Linked DNA regions of Homo sapiens: region 1 is linked to region 2. Evidence: promoter capture Hi-C in 16 types of primary human blood cells and fetal thymus (Javierre and others, 2016). All regions are on one chromosome and are shown on one strand. Each heading gives the region's core, a stretch centred on a gene start or on the middle of the fragment in contact. The rest is flanking DNA. Distances are from core to core; before and after follow the strand shown.

What was found. The method cuts DNA at HindIII sites, captures the fragments that hold promoters and counts their contacts. A CHiCAGO score of 5 or more calls a contact.
Region 1: a contact is called between a fragment that was not itself captured here and the fragment with the promoter of RAI1 in region 2, in 4 of 17 cell types (endothelial precursors, megakaryocytes, naive CD4 T cells and 1 more). The highest score is 8.3, in endothelial precursors.

What each region holds. Positions count from the first base shown.
Region 1 is chr17:17,790,924-17,796,896 of GRCh38, reverse strand. RAI1 (retinoic acid induced 1) reads right to left here. Exons shown (of 6, transcript NM_030665.4): 3 at 1-3,964. The coding sequence starts at 3,948. Among named protein-coding and RNA genes, the nearest start is that of SMCR5, 14 kb to the right of the region's middle. RefSeq lists enhancers at 2,438-3,162, 3,163-3,889. The HindIII fragment of the contact is 1,117 bases long and covers 961-2,077 here.
Region 2 is chr17:17,679,399-17,685,779 of GRCh38, reverse strand. It overlaps RAI1 (retinoic acid induced 1), which reads right to left and starts at 4,322. Exons shown (of 6, transcript NM_030665.4): 1 at 3,987-4,322. RefSeq lists silencers at 2,662-3,611, 3,598-3,770, 3,782-3,861, 3,922-4,061, 4,092-4,601 and an enhancer at 3,680-4,281. The HindIII fragment of the contact is 10,976 bases long and covers 1-5,932 here.

The sequences.
Region 1 (5,973 bases), core at 270-2,769, 110 kb before region 2:
GGTCTTCATGGCCCCCTGGAAGGCTGCCCGAGAGGCGAGCTTGAGGCAGGCATCGGGGGTCTCCGGGGGTGGGAGCTTTGTGGCAGGCTCGCCATTGCCCTTGGTGGGCTTGGCTTTCTTGGGAGAAGACATCCTCTTGAAGAGGGTGGGGGAACCCTCAGGCCTCTCCTCCTTCCCATCTCCCCCATTGCCACTGGCGTTGCTGCTGCTGCTGCTGCGGCTCCGCAAGACCAGGTTCCGCTTCTTGGTGGGGACCGGCGCCATGAAGGCCGACTTCCTTTTGAGCGCATGGAGGGGCCGGTCAGAGAGCTTGCTGCCTGCACCAGGTTTGGGGACCCTTGCCCGCTGGCTCACCCTGCCCTCCTTCTGGGGGCTGCTGGAGACCTTGAATGTGGCGGGCAAGTGGCTGTTGTCGAGGAGCTTCTTGGTGGCACGGCAGTTGGGGAGCCGGCCCTCAGAGGGCCTCCGCCGCTTGGAGTGGAAGATCTCCTGGGTTTTGGTGCGTGACCGAAGGATCATGGAGCGCTGGTCCTTGCCAGGCGTGCTGGGTGAGTCTGTCTCCTTGGTCTTGGAGCCCATCGGGCTGCTGTCGGAGGCCACAGGCAGGGCGGCCGGGTTGCTGGGGCTGGAGGCAGCCTTGGGTGAGGGCTTCCCCACCCGCTTGCCCGACTTGAAGGCGGCTCGCTGCTTGCCCCCCAGTTTGTCTGGGGGTGCAGGGGTGGTGGTCAGGCCTGGGGGTCCGGGCGTGCGGGGCTCACTCAGGGCCGTGAGAGAACGAGTACACATCCTGGGGAGCCCTTCCGAGGCCCCCCGGCCTGGGGCTCCAGCCCCTTCCATCTGTCCCTGGGGGGGCCCTGTGCAGGATTCAGGGAGCAAGAGGTCTTTGGGCAGCACTGGTGCCCTGCATGGGGAGTCCTCGGCCTCGGGCAGCCCCCGGTGCACCCGACGGCTCCGTAAGCTTTTGCCCCGTGGCACAGGCTCTTTCTTTGCGATGGGCGCCTCGGGCACAGCAGGCTTGTTGGGCTTCTGGGCCAGAGAGGCGTCCGAGGTGGTGGAATCCCCTGGAGCTCGCTCCCCATCAGGCCCCTCTTCACCTGGCTTCATGTGTGACAGAGAGGACTCAAACCAGCTCTGGACCTTTGACTCGGTGCCCACTGTAGGGCCCAGCAGGATGACGGACTCCCCTGAGAGGTGGCACGGAGAGCCCCAGCCGGCCTTGGAGTCCAGCACCTCCTCCACCTCCTCCTTGGTGCAGATGAGTGGGGCCTTGGGTGACAGCGGGTCCTGCATGCCAGGCCTCTGCTCGGGGCTGCCCAGGAGCTCACATAGGGAGGAGTACTCCTCCTCAGCTTCCAGGTCCTCCTTCCTGCTGGTGGGTGGCAGCAGTGGGAGGTCCCCGAAGTCGGCGGTGGAACAGCAGTGCCGGCTGTCCTCCAGCCACCGGTCAGCCTTGGCCACCTCGGGGCACTGCAGCAGCCCACCTGCCTCCTCCTTCACCCCACCCACCTCCTCCTGCTTGAAGTCCCCGGGCAACGAGGCCACCTTCTCCCCAGGGGGGTCCTCCTCCTGGAAGCCCAGGCAGGCCGAAGCCTCATGGGTGTCCCCTTTGCTGATGCCATCTGAGGCCTTCCCACCCTGCTCCAGGCCCTTGGTAAGCTCGCCAGGGTGCAATCCCCACCTGGGACAAGCATCCCCCAGGTTTTCCTCTGGCCAGGCAAAGGGGTTGGCGCTGTCCGCTGAGCTGGCAGCGGTTGTGTCCGGGAAACAGTCAAAAGCTGCTGTAGTGGGGTCTGGAGCAGGAACCCCAAGGGTGGGCTTGGTACCAAAGGAGAGAGGACCAGTTGTCTTTTTGGGGTCAGGCGTAGCGAAGGCCACGGAAGGGTCTTCAAACAGCCCTGGGCTGAAGTCCTTGGCATTGCCGCCCTTGTCCAGCTGCAAGGAGTCGGGCAGGGCCTCCGGCTCCCCAGGCCGGGGCCACGCACTCTTGGCCACAGAGTCCAGGCAGGCGCTGTGGTTCTCCAGCGAGAAGGGTGGCTTGCTGCTGTCCTTGACCAGGCTGGGTGCTTCAGCCCAAGCTTTGTCGGCCTTCTCACCGATGGCTTCCTGCAGCCCCAGGATCTCGGAGGCCAGGTCCTCCTGTGCCAGGGCGCTGAGCAGCAGCCGCGGACAGTCCCGCTCACCCGCCACGAACTTGGAGAAGCTGTCGAGCGGCAGACTGCCGTGTAGGCTCTGGAAGGAGTCGTCAGATTTGGTGGACATGTCGTCAGGAGAGGTCACAGAACAGGTGGACACGGACTCGGGCTTGGCCTTCGAGTTGCTGTTGACCCTGGCAGGGCTGCCACGGGCCTGGTTGCAGTAGAGGAAGCTGCGCTCCAGTGGGTCCTCGGAGCCGCTCAGGTAGTCGGCCTCCTGCGGCTCCGCATGCGTGGACTGTGGCGTGCTGCTCGGCGGCTCTGACAGCGGTGTGCCTGCGGGCTCGGCTGAGTAGCCGCTCCCTTCGGGGCTGCAGTGCTGGCTTTTATGCTGCTCTGGGGTCCTGGACACGAGGTTCTTGACACCTTTCTTCTGCGGCACAGCAGCCTTGGAGAGCAGCAGCTGCTGGACGGTGTTGGAGATGTTCTCCACCTGTGAGGTCAGCGCCGTGAGGCTCTGCAGGCTGAGATCCGACAGCAGGTTCTCAGGGAGCTTGTCCTTCTGAAGGGGCTTGCAGTTGCCAGCCTGGGTGTCCACAGAGCTGGTGGCATCCGTTGGGGAGGGATTGAGCAGGGGCATGAAGTGGCTGTGGTCAGTGATCCCTGCGGGGAAGGCCCCGGTGCTGAGCGGCTGCTGGCTGTAGGGAAAGTTCTCCAGGTTTGGCATCAGCGGCGACGGTGTGGAACTGTAGGAAGGTGAGCGGCCCACGGAGCGGGCGGGTGAGTGGCTGGAGCTGGGGCTGAAGGTCTGGTAGTACTGCTCTGGGGTCCGGACGGCTGCGTCCGGCTGGCAGTAGCCCTGGCCTTGCTGCCCGTAGTGCTGATACTTGGCGAGGTTTTGGTAATGGAGGGTTTCCTGGGCATGGTGCCGGCTCTGAAGGGCTTGCTGCTGCTGCTGCTGCTGCTGCTGCTGCTGCTGCTGCTGGTCATAGCTGAGGCGGCCCGACTGGTAGGCATGAAGATTCTGGACCCGCTGCCCCGGGGCCAGGCTGGAGCTGGCAGTCAGCGGCCTGTCATGGGGCTGGGCAGTCGGTGCTGTGCAACTCTTATAGGAGTGGGCCCCCTGCCCACCACCCTGGACAGAGGAGGAGTAGGTGGAGGAGGTGGGGAAGGACTGGGAATGCTGAGGAAAGTGGGTACCCTGGGGGAAGGGCAGAGGGGAGGCAATGTCGTTCTGCAGCTTCTGCCTTTGGAGCTTGGGGTATGCCAGGGGCTGCTGGGGCGGCGGTGGCTGCTGGACGTGCAGGGAGTGAGTCCGAAAGGGCACCTGGGCGCCCTGCTCTGCATACTGCCTGCTGGGGGGCACTGCTGTCTTTTTCATCAAGTTCTCATCATACTTGGCCACCCCTGCAGGTAGTGGCTGCGGCTGTGGGGGTGGTGGCTGTGGGGCCCCCCAAGCCTGAAGGCTCTCCTCACCAGCATAGCGGCCTGGGTAGGGGCTGCTGTCCTGGACGCCGTAGCCAGGGAAAGCCGGCCTCCCCTGCAGGCCTTGCTGTGTGGGCAGGGCCTTGCTGCCTCGGTGGTACTTGTCGGCGGCCACCGCGGCTGCAGTGCCAGAGGGCGTGCCAGCGCCACCCTCATAGCTCGGGTAAGGCTGCGGGTTATAATAGTCCTTGGCGAGCAGCCGCTGCCGGTCGCAGCTTAGCCCGGCCTGACTCGGCTGCCTGTAATTCTCTAGGCGTGATGTTTCCTGCGAGGTCTGCTGGTAGTTCTGTTGTTTGCCATGGAAACCACACCTTTCTCGAAAAGACTGCATGACTCGGGCTGGTTATCTGTGAAAAGAAAAAGGAAGGGAGGGAGGGAGGGAAGGAGGGAGGGGAGGATGGGCAGGGAGGGGGCAGAGGATGAGCGATTCAGACGGGCCACTTCCTTTTGCCTCAGAAAGCACCCTCCCACCCACCTCCCCACCCTGCCTGCTCCCCCGCGCAGCTCTTAATAGTCCCCCCTTCGCCTGAGCCTCCCCACCAGCTGTGCGCATATTGACAACTTCTGTGTCAGGGAGGTGTGCTCTGTAATTCCCGCTCCCACATCGCCTGCAGCTGAGTCTTGCCAAGGACGGCCACTGATGCGGGAGGCAAAACCGGCTGCCCAGCGCCAGGTCACTGGGGAGCTACCCGCCCCCCCCCCGCCCATTGCCAGCTCCTCCCCAATGTCCCCCACCCATCACTCCCAGCCCTTCCTGACAGCTCAAAAGCATTTAGCAGAGCAATTCCCGCTCCCTCATCCCCTGGGGCCTGCTGGATCCTGTAATTTAGTCCCTTCGCGACCGTGTTCAAGCATGACCCAGCCATGCTGGGGACTGAGGAGGGTCTGCCCCTGTCCCCACGCACATGCGTGCACACAAGCATATGTATGCTCACACACACACGCGCGCACACACACACACACGCATGCACACACACACCTCCTCTATCACTGCCACGCCATCTGGAATCTGTCTGTTCCTTCTAGCAGACATCGATTAGGGGCTGCCAAGCCACTGTAGACATAAAATGTCCCCTCCTCTGACTCCCAGGAACGCAAGACGGCAGCACCTGCCTCCTGTTTTTGATATCATACGTGCATAAACAGATTACGTGGCCCAGAGTGAGGGAGTGCATACTAATGGGAGTAGAGATGCAGTCCCAGGGCCACGGCCACGGAAGGGCACAGCCCAGCCCCACCCACATGGGGCGACACAGCCCTGTCCCCTCCTGGCCAGTTCCTCCCCACCTCAGCAGGTGAGGGCTGGGGCAGGCAACACTCAAGAGCCCATCTGGTTATGATTTTAGGGGATGGGGCTCAGGCAGGGGTCTAACCTGCCCCTGCCTGCAGAGCAGAATCCTGGGTCAGGAAAGGACCCAGGGTGGGTTGCGGGAGCCTCTCAGAGCAGAGCATCTGACAGCCCAGCATCCAGGGTAAAGGTTCCTCCAGCTGACTCGCTGGCCTGGCCAACCAGAAGACCCCTCAAAGAGGGATGGAAGAAAGAGGAATGCCCCAGGTTTTGGAGGAAGTGCATGGAGGGGCTGGCCATTGGCCGAGTCCCAGAGGGTTTGGGATTTACCCAGAACCATGCTGGCCCGGAGGCAGGAAGAAAGGGGCTCAGCTCGGCCTGTGTGGCCCAGGCCCCCAGGAGGGGATAGGGGACTTTCCAGTGCTGGTTCCCAAATGCTCCAAAAGGAAGGGGTGGCTTGCCTCAGGCTACAAAGATTCCAGGTTGTTGAAGGGGTCAGGAAGGGACAAAGAGAGGGGGAGAGGGGCACAGAGAGGGAGAGGCACGCAGAGTCGGGGAGGGGCACAGGGAAGAGGCAGAAAGGTGGGGAGTGGGGGAGAGCTGGGGGTGCTGCTCCATTTACCCTTCTTCCTTGGCCCGGACCCCACCACAAGTGCCTTCCTCATTTAGTGTCTGGGGATGGATGCAGGGAAGGCGACAGAGGGCCTCCATCTGCCTGAGAGCAGGGCAAGCCCAGGGCAGCCAGATGGCCCCCAGAAGCCCGTCAGCCCAGTCCTGGGACCACCTCTCCTGCTCTCTGGAGTCAGCTTGCCCTGGCCCACAAATGCAGGAGAGTCAGCCCAGTGTGGGGGCCGGCCACTTTCCCACGAGGCGAGCCCCTGCCCACCGGCTTATCAAAGCCGCTTTCCCTCTGCTCCAGCTCCTCTCCCTGGATTTGTCGCAGGCATCCCTAACAAGCAGCGTGCCCACCCTTCTGACCCACTTCAATCCTACCCCTGGCAGCTTGGATAAAACATTACAGGAGGTTCCTGCTGCGACGCGCCAACCCAGAGGAGCTGGGGACGGCAC
Region 2 (6,381 bases), core at 3,073-5,572:
AATGGCCCTGGACAGCATGGGAAGAACTACAGATGGGACCTTTATTCATAAGGCAGCAGGAGCCACTGGAGGTTATCTGCTGGGTTTAGAACGATCGCTCTGACAGTGCTGCTGGCCAGCACCTGGGAGGGGACAGGATGGAGGCAGGGAGGCCAGTGAGGAGGTCCCAGCAACAGCCCAACCTCTTCCGCCACCATTCTTTCTGAGCCAAGTCCTCCCCTCTTGTTTGGCTACAGCACACAGGCCACATCCCTTCCAGCTTCCAAAGACTCGCTCTGCTCACTGTGTTCCCTCTGCCAGGAATGCTCCTCTCACTCTTACCTCGCCGTGCCTGAAGCACCTGCTCAAAGGCCCCTCCTCCAGGAAGCCTCCAGCTCTGGTCGAGGCCTTGGCTATGAGCTGGGTCCCAATCACCCACTGGGCTGTGACCTTCTTGTGGTCAAGTGCAGGGATGCTTCCTGCTTGGACCCCGACATTAAGCACAGAACTTTGGAAACAGTGGGTCCTTGGAAAATCCCTGTTCCCTTGGGCCCAGTGCCCAGGTGCCTCTCCCGCAGAGACGCTGCTCTGCGCACACCGTTGCTGTTGCACCTCCTCCCTCCCTGTGGAGCCACACGTTGGATAGGGGAGGAAAAAGACACCCATGCCATGGCCACAGGCAGCTGTGGAAAGCAATGCATTTCAAACATGGGCTGCCATGGAGATAGAACAGCAATAACAATACAACAATGACGGCAGCAATCAGCATTTATTGGCAAAAGCACTGCTCTAAACTTCATATGGATTAACTCACTGCATCTTTACTTCAGTACCGTGAGGTCTGTACTGTTATTCTCCTGATTGTAAAGATGGGGACACTGAGGCACAGAGAGGTAAATGGCCTGTTCAGTATGTGGTGGAGCCAGGAGTCAACCCAGAACTTGCCCTGAAGGACTTCGCCACACAACCAACCTCTCCAAGACAAACGGAGAGGAAAAAGGAAGCTGCCGAGGAAGAGCCCACAGTATGTCCTCACTTGGGGAAAAAGAAAACTATGCATGGATTGGTATATGTAATATACATACATACATACATATATATATATATATATATATATATATATATATATGCATTAAGTGAGTAACAAAAAGTCTGGAAGGATACGTTCAAACTATTAACTGGGGTTACCTGCAGGGAGGGTGCCAAGGGAACTTTTACTTTTACTACATATATTTCTGGCTTATTTGCATTTTTCACCCAAGTATCCAAGTGTTACTTGAGTAGTTTAACATGAGAGGAATTATTAGGGTTGCAATTAACATTTGTTGCATGAATAGATGGCAAATTCATTTCCTAGGCTTGTTTTTTTCAAATTCTGGGTATGACCCATCAGTGGATTGCAAAATTAATTTCGTGGGTAGCAATCAGTAATTAAAAAAAAAACAAATACACAAGAACAAAAAGGATTACAGACCAGCAGACACAGTAAGGGAGTTATTTCAGTAAACTTTTGTTTCAGCTATATACAGTGTGACCTGTGTAGTTACCTACGATGTATTTCTTACTATAGGTCACGGGCAAGAATTTGAAAGCAATTGGTCTAGGCTTGGGAGTCTAAAGAGGAGTAAGGCTGGGTGCAGTGACTCACTCCTGTAATCCCAGCACTTTGGGAGGCCAAAGAGGGAGGATCGCTTGAGCCCAGGACTTCAAGACCAGCCATGGCAAGACCCCTGTCTCTAGAAAAAAAAAAAAATTTAAAATTAGCTACGTGTGGTGTCGGGCGCCTGTGATCCCAGCTACTCAGGAGACTGATGCTGGAGGATCGCTTGAGCCCTGGAGGTTGAGGCTGAAGTGAGCTGTGTTTGTGCCAAGGCACTCCAGCCTGGGCCACACAGCAAGACCCTGTCTCAAAAATAAAACAAAGAGGAGTAAGACAGGGTCCCTGCCTATGAGAGCCCCACAGTCTAGTGGAAGAGAAAGGCAGCTCCAGTACCCCTGAGTTCCCTTTATCTCCACAGAAGCCAGAGGGATGCTAGGCTGGTGGGAAAGGTCCTATTTTGCCCACTCCACAGTTGGCTTCTGGGGCCTGGATCTCACCTTGATACATTCTCCTCCTCTCCAAGGCTTTTGCTTGTGAGAGCTTTTGCCAGAGTTATGGGGCTGAGCCTGCCCTGAGATCAGAATGATGTGTCCACTTCTGTGTCACGCAAAAGGCCACTTTTCCTTGCTCCTGGGCCCCGAATATACCGGCTTGCCTGTCAAGAGGGGGAGGGGTGGGAAACTAGAAGATTCCTTTCCAGTTTCTAGATCCCGAGGGCCACGTCCCAGGAAAGCCTCTGAAAACCCAGCTGTGTGGTCAGCAGGGAGGGGCCACCATTCAGTCTGCAGCGAGGGCTGCCCCCCACCTGGGGTGGGCCTGACCCTGAGCAGAGCGAGGACTGTATGGAGAATGGAGGGGGGCAGGGGCAGGAAGAGAAGCAGAGCCCCCAGCTCGGGGCTCCCATCACGCTGGCGCCTCCACATCAGAGCTAGCCTAACCCACCCCCGCCTCTCCTCCCAGGGCAGCAGACAACTAAAAAAAGATAAAATAAAAAGAAGTAATTCCCCTGCTCTGACGTCAGCGCGAGGTCTTAACAGCCCGGCAGCGGCATGAAACTGGATTGCAACCAGATGTAATGCCCTTGAATTCTCAACACACTACTGCATTGGAAAGACATAAAAGGGGGGCGGGGGACAGTATTGGTGGGAGGAACCGTGCAGATCCCGAGTGGGTCCCTGAATCCGGGCCCGCCGAAACCGCGGGGAAGGCGGCGCGGGAGAGTGTGCGGCGCGCGGAGCAGCGCCCGGCCGGCTCCGCCATTCAGGCGCGCGGCCTCCCCTCCCCCAGCCCCCACCGGCGCATTGTTACACTCGCTCCCATCCATTCAGAGCCCGAGGCCCGCCGCGCCCCCGCCAGCCCGGGCTCCGCGCAGGAGAGCACCGCGGCAGCCCGCACTCCGGCCCCTGCGTGGACTGGATAACGACCAAGAGCCCCAAGAAAGAAAACTGCTAGCCGGGAAAACGGGCGCCCCAGGAAGCTGGGGCCGCGACGGCCTAGGGCCTGGCTGGTGTTTCGCTTCCCCTCCGCCCCACCACGGAGGCCCCTGGCGCGACCAGGCTCCAAATGTCACCCTCGCGTCCTGCCACCCCTTGTCCCCGCCGCACTCGGCCCCCATGTCCTCCTCCCGGGTTCCCTGCCTTCAAGGCGCGTGAGAGGGGGGGCCGGCCTCGAAAAGGGCGGCGGGCTGCGCCGCCGTCTGTGGGGCGCAAGGCTCGCGTGTCCGGGGCCCCCGCCCGTGACGTCATCCCCGAAGGGCCCGTGCCTCCCGGGCCTGGCCGCTACAGAGCTCCCCAGGTCGCGGGGGCCGCTTCCTGCCCGGCCTCGGGGCCTGCGCACAGGCCCCGGGGCCGCTGCCCGGGTAGGGACACCGCAGAGAGCCCGAGCACCCATCTCGCCACGCACGGCCTTCGCCGGCCCTGACTCCCAAGCGATGGCCACGCCGGGCCCGGGTCACGCATGGGGAAGTCAGCTCCCCGTCCCCCACCTCGGACGCACTCACAAAGCTCACCTCCGCCCCCGGCGCCCCGCGAATGCACCCCACGTCCCCACCCCACGCTCCGCAAAGACTCCGCGCCTCGGCGCAAGCAGATCCCTTGCCACACTCGCCCCTCGCGCCCCCATGCCCCCACCCGACCTCAGCTGGCCGCACATCCCCCAGAAGACCCTCAGCCGCGGCGCAGGGCGCCCCCACCCTGCAGCTCCCCAGACGTCCATCCGGTGACCTCGCGCACCCCCCACACCACACAAAGCAAGGACCCCGCGGACCCCACATCTCCACCCAGCGCGCGCGCTCGGCGTCCGAACCCGCCTCGGCTCATCACCCGGCCTAGGATCCCGACGCCTCGCGCCGCCCCCGCCCCGGGGCAGGATACACTGCGCCCCCCGCGCCCCGGCGCTCGCTGCTCACCTCGGCGCCCGCGCTCACTCGGGGGCCTTGGGTCTGGCGCTGCGACTTCGCGGCCCGGAGGCCTGGGTGGCCATGGGGGTCGGGGCGCGGCGGCCCGGCCGGCCCGCGGCCAGGCAGGAAGGAGGGTGGGCCGCGGCGCCCCCTCCTCGCGCCGGCGCTAGGGCCGCGGGCAGGGCGGCCTGCTCGGCTCGCCTCTCGCCCTCGCTGCACTCGCTCTCCCACTCGTCTCTCGGAGCCCAGCCGCGGGCGGGGGCGGCGCCCGGGGACGCGGGGAGCGGGCCTTGGCCGCGCACCCGGCCGGGCCTGCCTGGTGTCCGCGGGTGCCGCGAGGAATGCGATCCCCTCCGCACAGGAAGAGCGGACGAGCGGACGGGCGGGCGGGCGACGCGCGGGGGGAGAAGGAGAGCAAGAGCGCGAGGAAAAAAGTTCCCGGGCGGCCTGGCTGCGCTCGCTCGCGGCCCCGGGCGCCAGGTGGGCCGTGCGCGCCCCGACAGCACCCCCTGGCGGTCCGCGCGCCCCACTGCGCGCCCCCCGCCCGCTGGCCGGCCTGCGGGAGGGGGCCTCTGCGGTGGGATCCCGGTGCGGCCTGGGAGGACACTAGCGCCCTGCGTACAGGAGCTTCCAGCGTCAGGCCAGGCCCCCACCCTCACCCCACCATTAGCCCTCACCTGTGCCCACTTCTTTGCAGTTTGAGAAACATTTTCGATTTCAAAACTCCATTGGCTTCATGTAAACTTCATTTACTGGGCACCTGGCACCTTGCTGAGTCTTGAGGAATCAGCAGAGACAATGCGGTCCCTGCTGTCGTGGAGCTGGCATCCTGGTGGGAAGAGACAGACAGCAAACAAATGCTTAGATACATGACGAAGATAATTTTAGAGCAGTAAGTGCTAGGACGAAAATTAGCAGGTGAAGTGACGGCTAGGGCTCCTTGGCTGGGGGAGAGAGAAGGAGGCCTGTCTGTGCAAAGATCTAAATAGCAAGAGGAACCGCCATGGGTAGAGTCTGGGAAGAGCATTTTGTTCTTTTAGAGGCAGGGTCTTGCTGTGTTGCCCAGGCCGAACTTGAATTCCTGGCCTCAAACAGTCCTCCCACCTCAGCCTTCTGAGTAGCTGGGACTACAGGGGCCTGCCCTCCTGGGAAGAGCATCATTGGCAGAAAGAACATCAAGTGCAAAGGTCCTGAGGCAGGAGAGAACTTGGTGAGTAAGTGGAATTGTGAGGAGGCCGTCAGCAAGGGGACAAGTAATGGGCACATTGAAGTCAGAGCCATATCGGGAGGGCCAGAGCCTGCAGGGCTGCAGAGAGCTCAGTGAGGAATTTGTTTGCAATTCTAGTGCAAGGAAGGTAGCCACTGGCAGACTTTAAACAGAGGCATGTTGAATGAGAGAGTCCTTGCATGAAACTTAAGGTACAGACCTCGGAGCAATTTCATGCCTAGGTCTCTACTTGCCATAGCTCAGGTGGGAGCTCACTGCCACCTGCTTGGGAAGCCTCTCAGCCCCACCCAGGCTCTAGGGTCTGTGGGATATGACCCCATTAACAGCCCCATCGAAGCCTCCCTCATTTGTCCTTTGGTAGGGCAGAGGGGAGCTGGTCAAGGCATCAGAGCTTGTGGGTGACCTGGGACAAGTGAATCCTGCATCTGCAAAATAAGGTATTGTGATAGATGGGGGGCCCTCACTCTGTCCCAGGCCTGCTGTGCCCCTTCTGTGCATGGTCTCATTAGATCCTGGTGCCCCCTCTGTGAGGTCGGCTCATCACATTTTGTGGATGAGGAAACAGGCGCAGAGTGGTGAAGTCCCCTGTCCAGGTTCTCAAGCTACAGGACAGAATCAACACAGGTCCCCACAGTCCTTCCTACTGGACTTGGCTACCCGTCTCCCAGGGTGAATGTCAAGAGCAAGACAGAGCTGGATCCCAGTGCGAACTGTGTTGTTTTAAGCTTGTTTTAAGTGCGGTTTCTGGATGACAGATCTGGTTTATTTTTATTTATTTATTTATGTATTTTTTTTTTGAGACGGAGTTTTGCCCCTGTTGCCCTGCCTGGAGTGCAATGGTGCGATCTTGGCTCACCACAACCTCTGCCTCCCAGATTCAAGCAATTCTCCTGCCTCAGCCTCCCGAGTAGCTGGGATTACAGACATGCACCGCCACACCCACCTAATTTTGTATTTTTAGTAGAGACAGGGTTTCTCCATGTTGGTCAAGCTGATCTTGAACTCCTGACCTCAGGTGATCCACCTGCCTCGGACTCCCAAAGTGCTGAGATTTCAGACATGAGCTACCGCGCCTGGCAAATCTGGTTTCTAAACGTGGCTCCTCTATGCCCAGCTGGGTGGCTTTGGGCAAACTACTTAACTTGCTGAGCCTCCGTTTCCTCATCTGTAGAATGG